2 separate regions of the Homo sapiens genome follow, and region 1 is linked to region 2. Evidence: promoter capture Hi-C in 16 types of primary human blood cells and fetal thymus (Javierre and others, 2016). All regions are on one chromosome and are shown on one strand. The core of a region is centred on a gene start or on the middle of the fragment in contact, and the rest is flanking DNA. Distances in the headings are between cores, read along the strand shown.

What was found. Contacts are between HindIII fragments. The CHiCAGO score rates a contact against its expected background, and 5 or more counts as called.
Region 1: a fragment that was not itself captured here is called in contact with the fragment with the promoter of SORCS1 in region 2 in 1 of 17 cell types (erythroblasts); the score reaches 5.8 in erythroblasts.

What each region holds. Positions count from the first base shown.
Region 1 is chr10:106,725,857-106,729,430 of GRCh38, reverse strand. The region is part of intron 6 of SORCS1 (sortilin related VPS10 domain containing receptor 1); the gene reads left to right. Among named protein-coding and RNA genes, the nearest start is that of SORCS1, 440 kb to the left of the region's middle. The HindIII fragment of the contact is 2,627 bases long and covers 193-2,819 here.
Region 2 is chr10:107,162,764-107,166,124 of GRCh38, reverse strand. SORCS1 (sortilin related VPS10 domain containing receptor 1) reads left to right here and starts at 1,419. Exons shown (of 26, transcript NM_052918.5): 1 at 1,419-2,156. The coding sequence starts at 1,599. RefSeq lists a silencer at 1,510-1,703. The HindIII fragment of the contact is 2,762 bases long and covers 293-3,054 here.

The sequences.
Region 1 (3,574 bases), core at 257-2,756, 440 kb after region 2:
TTTTTCTGTGTGTCCCCATGAGAGGCAGCAGGAGGAGAGTCAGTTGAGTGAATTGCTCACCTGTCAGTAGTTCTTATCAACTCCGGGTGGTTATGCTGCAGTGAAGGACAGGACTACACTTTGTAGCCTCATGACAATGTTGTAGGTTGTTTTTCTCATTTCACATATGAAGAAGCAAAGGCATAGAAAGCTTAAGTAATAATATAGCTAAGCTAATATGGTAAATAAGTAGAGGACAGTGATGTCTATCTCACAGAGCCTATTCAGGTGAGAATTCAAGAAACCCATGCATATACAATACTTCACACAGTGCCTGACCTACTAACACCAGCAATGAATGTTTCCTTCCCCTTCTCTGGTACAGAGGATCCTCAGAAGGGCTAAGCATTTGCAGGGGTACCGCTAGGCCTAGGATAGAGCACTCCAGGTGAGGGGGTAAAAGAAAATGAGAAAAGGGGGAAACTGTATATAGAAGAGGGTGAGGGGAGAAAAGACAGGGAGAAAGGAAGAGGTCTCAGATGTAGAGGAGAGGAAGAGAATGGACTATCCACAATTACCACAGAGCAATGAGGCTGTTGTAGGCTACCCAGCGCTGGCCCAGAGAGTGACCATCTCATTTCCAAGACCTTCCCAGTTTCTAAAATATCCCTCACAATTCAAAAGCACCCTAATCACTGCCGTTTGTGCCTACCAGTCCTTGGCTCTTCTGAACACAAAGGCAGAAGGTCCTGCACTTTACCAGCTTACAGCCAAACAAAGCAGGTCAACCCTATAACCCAAACTCCCCAGAAACCACACATTTTTCATTACTATGCATGTACCATGAGATTTCTCATCTCTAAAGGTTTGTTTCCCTTTTGGGGGAGTGAATATATTTTTTGACAGAGTCAGTTGGGGCACAGGTTAGGGATCAAGGCTGACCATCATCCTCTGTAACCCAGGCAAAGCTGCCACATGTAACATGCCCAGCACTGTGCCTGACACAGAATGAGCTCAACAGGTCAGAGCAGCTTTCCCACCTCCTCAGGGGGCTCGCTCTGGTGGTGACGTCTCCATTTCCCTGGAGCAGATGATGTTATCTTGGATTCCAAGGTCCAGTTCTTGCTACATAACAGATCAATATTTTCTTAATGCAAAAGTAAACACATCATTGTTTAAAAGTCTTGCTTACTGGAGATAGAGACCATCCTGGCCAACATGGTGAGACCCCATCTCTACTAAAAATACAAAAATTAGCTGAGTGTGGTGGTGCGTGCCTGTTGTCCCAGCGACTTGGGAGGTGGAGGCAGGATAATCACTTGAACCCAGGAGGCGGAGGTTGCAGTGAGCTGAGATCGCACCACTGCTCTCCAGCCTGGCGACAGAGCCAGACTCCGTCTCAAAAAAAAAAAGTCTTGCTTACTTCCCATTGCTTTGATGATAAAGAGCTAAATTCTCATCTTGACCTATAGCTCCAGCATAACTTGTGTCTGCCCATTCCCTCAGCCTAATCTTAGTCTGCCCTCTCCTCACTCGTTGCCTGCAGGCCTTTAGGCGGGTTTTCAATTCTTGGAACATACAGGGGTATGTGTCTTGCCATAAAGCCTTGGTACATGCTGTTTTCTCTATCTGGAATACCCTTCTTTCTTGCCCATACCCTGACCAATCGAGCATAATTGATTACTGTGGATGGTTGAGACCTCAGGTTAATCGCCTATTTCTTAGAAAAGCCTCTCGTAAACTCTCAGTCTAAATGAGTTTCTTATTTTGATTGCTTTTATACAACTATTTTTTTTCTTTATCATGTTCTTCTCTGTTTGAAATTATACTTTCTTTTTACGTGTTTATTCGATCACAACCGTTTCTCGCCACCAGTCTGTAAGTTTTATGAGAGCAGGGACCATGTATATCATATTCAGTATTGTGTCTCCAGAGCCAGGAATGGTAGCACACATCTGTAGTCCCAGCTAGTCAGAAGGCTGAGGCAGGGGGATCATTTGAGCCCAGGAGTTCAAGACTGTAGTGCACTGTGAACACAACTGTGAATAGCAACTTTACTCCAGCCTGGGCAATATAGTGAGATCCCATGTCAAAACAAAAACATTATGTCTCCAGCACATGCCATGGCATCTACATGTAGAGAGATCTCACTAAGCATATGTTGAATGATGGCATACCCGGCTGACCAGTTGTCAGGGCTACCAGTGGCTATCTCACCTCACTTACCAGGTTGTCTGAAAATGCTAGAGCCTCACATCTTAAACCTTAGCATGTATGCTACCCACCTAGGGACCTTGTTAAGATCTGCATTGTAATTCAGTAGGGGCCTGACAGTCTGCATTTCTTTTTTCTTTTTTTTTTTTTTTGAGACAGAGTCTCGCTCTGTCACGCAGGCTGGAGTGCAGTGGCACTATCTCGGCTCACTGCAAGCTCCGCCTCCCAGGTTCAGGCCATTCTCCTGCCTCAGCCTCCTGAGTAGCTGGGACTACAGGCACCCGCTACCACGCCCGGCTAATTTTTTGTATTTTTAGTAGAGACGGGGTTTCACCGTGTTAGCCAGGATGGTCTCGATCTCCTCACCTCGTGATCCGCCCGTCTCGGCCTCCCAAAGTGCTGGGATTATAGGCGTGAGCCACCGCACCCGGCCGAGAGTCTGCATTTCTAACAAGCTCCTAGATGATATCCATGCTGCGGGTCTGTGAAACATGCTTTGAGTAGCAAAGTTCCACAACAGAAAATTAGTGAAAGAGCTTGAGGGTCTGTTTCCCATGATTGCACCCCTAGTTTAGGAAGCTCTGGATGGAATTGGTAGCATCCCGGGTTGCTTTCATTTTCAAGCTTTTGGGCATATGCTGCTGTTTTCTGGCTTGTGGCATCCAATGCACATGACGCTTTATCCTAAAAACAATGAGGCCATCACTCTCTGTGATCTGCACATTTTCTTACACCCAGCATTATTCCTGTGCTCCCTGAAGGCATGGCGGTTGATAATGCCAAACTGTCATCTCAGGCTTAGCTTTCACAAAGCATGAAATGTATCAGTTCTAATTTTATTTATTTTACTTTTTTTTTTTTTTTTTTTTTTTTTTTTTGCGAAGGCAGCATCTTCAGAAACTATCCAAGGGTGAAAATTCAATAAAAGGATTTAATTTGAAAAGTTAGCCCTGTCGAAACAAAACAGGAAAAAAAAAATCTACCAATTGTTTTAAAGGGTCCAAGCATAACACCTGACCTGTCACAGTGTAAAAAAAAAAAAAAAAAAAAAAGAGAGGGAAAGAGATTGTCTCAATAACCAAGGCTCCAGTTAAAACAACAACAACAACAACAAAATAAACAGAGAGGAGGAGGTTGGAAGTAAATAGCACAGAGAGGTCAGGGTAGCAAGGTGTCAGCAAATGTAGTGGGCAAAGTTTGACAGTGTATTTATCAAAATCAGGTTACAGTCTCATCAGCTGCACTACGAATTTCATATCTCTGTGTTATCTCTTTCTCATTTCCTATTTTTTTTTTTTTTTTTTCCTGAGACAGAGTCTCACTCTGTCACCCAGTCTGGAGTGCACTGGCACCATCTCGGCTCACTGCAACCTCTGCCCCC
Region 2 (3,361 bases), core at 170-2,669:
ATTAAATAATGTAATAACATGTACCTAAGAGAATATTACGTATATGAAGACTGCAAAGAAATCTGAAACCATTTCAACCCTTAGAAGCAAACTGTCTACTTTAAAAAGGATTGGATTTTGAGAAATCCTTTGCCGTTTTCAAAGCCCATTCACCTGCTATAAATCTTCATCTGAACTTACGAATAGTAGCAGGGTGCTAGGCTGGGCAGATACTATAATCATACAATTATAGAATTTTAGGAGCGGAAGGGATTTTAAAGGTCATCTAATGTGACCATTTAATTTTAAAGCTTAGGAAGCTGACAGATTGTGATTTGTCTGAGGTCCCAAAGCAAACCAGTGGCAGAGCACCATCACAGACTTGCTATTAGGGATCTCAAAGCATGTGGCAGTAGCACTGGGCCAGGCACCAAGTGACACAGAATAACTATAAGTACTGTGCCTCCTTTCCTGTATTTATTTGTTATGCAGATATGCATTAGACTCACAATAAATATTTATTGAACTAATGACTGGCAGATTTCCTCCCATGTAGGGTACTGTGCCACGTACTGAGGAAAATGGTAAACAAAAAACAGGTCACTTCCTCCAAGTTGCTCGAAATTTGATCTTCCTGTCCTCAATGAGTTTGCAGTCTCTTAGGGAAACCAAGATATATACGCTTAAAAAACGCGTAGTGGAAAGCGTTTTCTTAAATATGATTGCATGCAGGAAGATTGGGTTCAAATTCAGTGAATGCTTTAGGAGGTTAGGAGAGAAATCTAAGCGTTAAAATTGATGGGAAAAAAAATCCCCCAAACTAACACACACACACACACACACACACACACACTCACACACGAGATCATTTAATTACATCACTCTCTGCTGCTGCCTTTCCGGGATCTCCCCCCAGGCTGGGACACACAGGCTCTGCTGCGGGTAAGGTCAAGATGCCAACTCAGGAAGCATAAGAGAGGGAAGGAGCAGAAGCCCACCCATCCCTATCTCCTCAACTAGAAAAGACCAGAAAGACGGAGAAAAAAGGAAACAGCAACATAGACTCATAGAAACAATAAAGCAGGAATAGGAAGCTCCCGACACATCGACTGCTCCGGGAGCCCGGGGTCGACCGCCCCCGCGGGCAGGGTGCGCGGACTCAGCGCCGGGACCCGCGGCCGCGGGGGCGCAGAGTGGGCGGCGGGGAGAGGCGGCGGCAGCGCCTGCGAGGCCGAGGGGAGGTCGCCGGCGGCGCCTCCAGCGCCCGGAGACCCGGTGCGCAGCGCAGCTCGGCCGCGGGACGCGGCGCCCGGAGTCCCGGCAGCGCCTGCCCTCCCTCCCGCGTCGCCCGCCAGCGCCCGCGCCCGCTCCGCCAGTGACTTCAGCTCAGCTCCACCCCCGCGCGGCGGCGGCTCGCTCCGTCCGGACCCGCGCTCGGCACAAGCCCAGCCCGGGCAAGCGGCCGCCACCTGCCCGGCGCCGCCTCCGCCCGCCCCCACCGCGGCGCAACTTGGATGGAGTTGGGGTCCTGAGCGCCGGCCCCCCACAGCCGCCAGCGCAGAGCTCGTGCCGCCACCTTCGTTCTGGGACCCCTCTCTCCGCTGCTCTTCGCTCCCGCGATGGGAAAAGTTGGCGCCGGCGGCGGCTCCCAAGCCCGGCTGAGCGCGCTCCTCGCCGGCGCGGGGCTCTTGATCCTCTGCGCCCCGGGCGTCTGCGGCGGCGGCTCCTGCTGCCCCTCGCCGCACCCCAGCTCCGCTCCACGCTCGGCCTCGACCCCTAGGGGCTTTTCCCACCAGGGGCGGCCAGGCAGGGCTCCTGCCACGCCCCTGCCCCTCGTAGTGCGTCCCCTGTTCTCAGTGGCCCCCGGGGACCGAGCGCTATCCCTGGAGCGGGCTCGGGGCACTGGGGCATCCATGGCGGTTGCTGCACGCTCCGGCCGGAGGAGACGGAGCGGAGCGGATCAGGAGAAGGCAGAACGGGGAGAGGGCGCGAGTCGGAGCCCCCGGGGAGTGCTAAGAGATGGAGGGCAGCAGGAGCCTGGGACTCGGGAGCGGGACCCGGACAAAGCCACCCGCTTCCGGATGGAGGAGCTGAGACTGACCAGCACCACGTTTGCGCTGACGGGAGACTCAGCACACAACCAAGCCATGGTCCACTGGTCTGGCCACAACAGCAGCGTGAGTAGAATGGGACTGAGGGTAAAGGGGTGGAAAGATGGAAAGGGTTAAAGTCGGCTGTGTGATCTGATGGAGAATTGGGGGGAAATAGGGTTTCTGGACATGGGAGATGCTGCAAACTGGTCTCTGCCCACTTCCCCCAAGAGTTAACATCACCTACTAGGAGACCAACCTCCCCATCTCTCCCACCAACACCATCAGAGTCCTCTCCAAATGCCACAGCTTCAAACTGAGGAGTCAAATCCCTATTTCCTGTTGCCTTGGTCGCATTGGTGTGTGGAACTGAAGACCAGGTAAACAGAGGGGTTAAAGTTCTCCTAATACAGAGATGAAAGGGTTAAATTTCCAGGCAAGCTGACATCCCCTCAAGTGACTTTCCCTTTACTTGCCAGACCTATGTACTGGCTCAAAGAAGATTAAGAAGACCCATATATGTAGGCGTTTTATTTTATTTTATTTTAATTTCATGCGGAGCTCCTAACCCCTTCTTCTCCACAAGGGAGAACTGCAGTGGAGAGTATATAAGGTGTTCTTTAGTGTATCCTCTGCTTTAGGGACCAAGTGGATGCAAGTTTCAGGGCAGGAACTCTCCAGCATCTTCTAACAGCGCTAAGCGAGGGTGTTTTGAGAACTGGGGCTTTCCAGCCCGTGAATGAGCGGTTGTTCTCTGGCATGGTCAGTCCCAGGAAGATCAGATATATCCCAGTGACAACAACTCCCTGTTCTCCCCCATTGCCTGACCTCCTCTAATGAAGAGCACAAATAAAGACTTAACATTCCCTTTATGAAGGCAGGAAAGGGATTGCTCAATTCCAGGAGGCTGGATTCCAGGGGACTTAGGATGCAAGTCCATGAGCTTTGGTCCTATCAGGAAAGGTTTTAGATTTTCAGAAAAGCTTGCATGTCTGCAATCTGAGGGAGCTATTCCTGTTTAAATTGAACCTAGAAACTTCAGTGAGTTGAAATAGTAGAGAACCAGCTTTGATTGTAATAACTAAAAGTGATTTTAAAGTGTGGAAACTTCTCCAGACATAGACAAGAACATAACAACCAAGGATGGGTAAAATGGGGGAAAAAAATTTCAAGTTTTACAGCTTCAACCAGGTAATTGAGATTGTAGTGTTTGTAATATGCACAATTTACGCAGTCTGGAACCTTTCAAAACGTTTTCTGTTGTGATGTAATTCCCAGAAACCTTCCCAGAG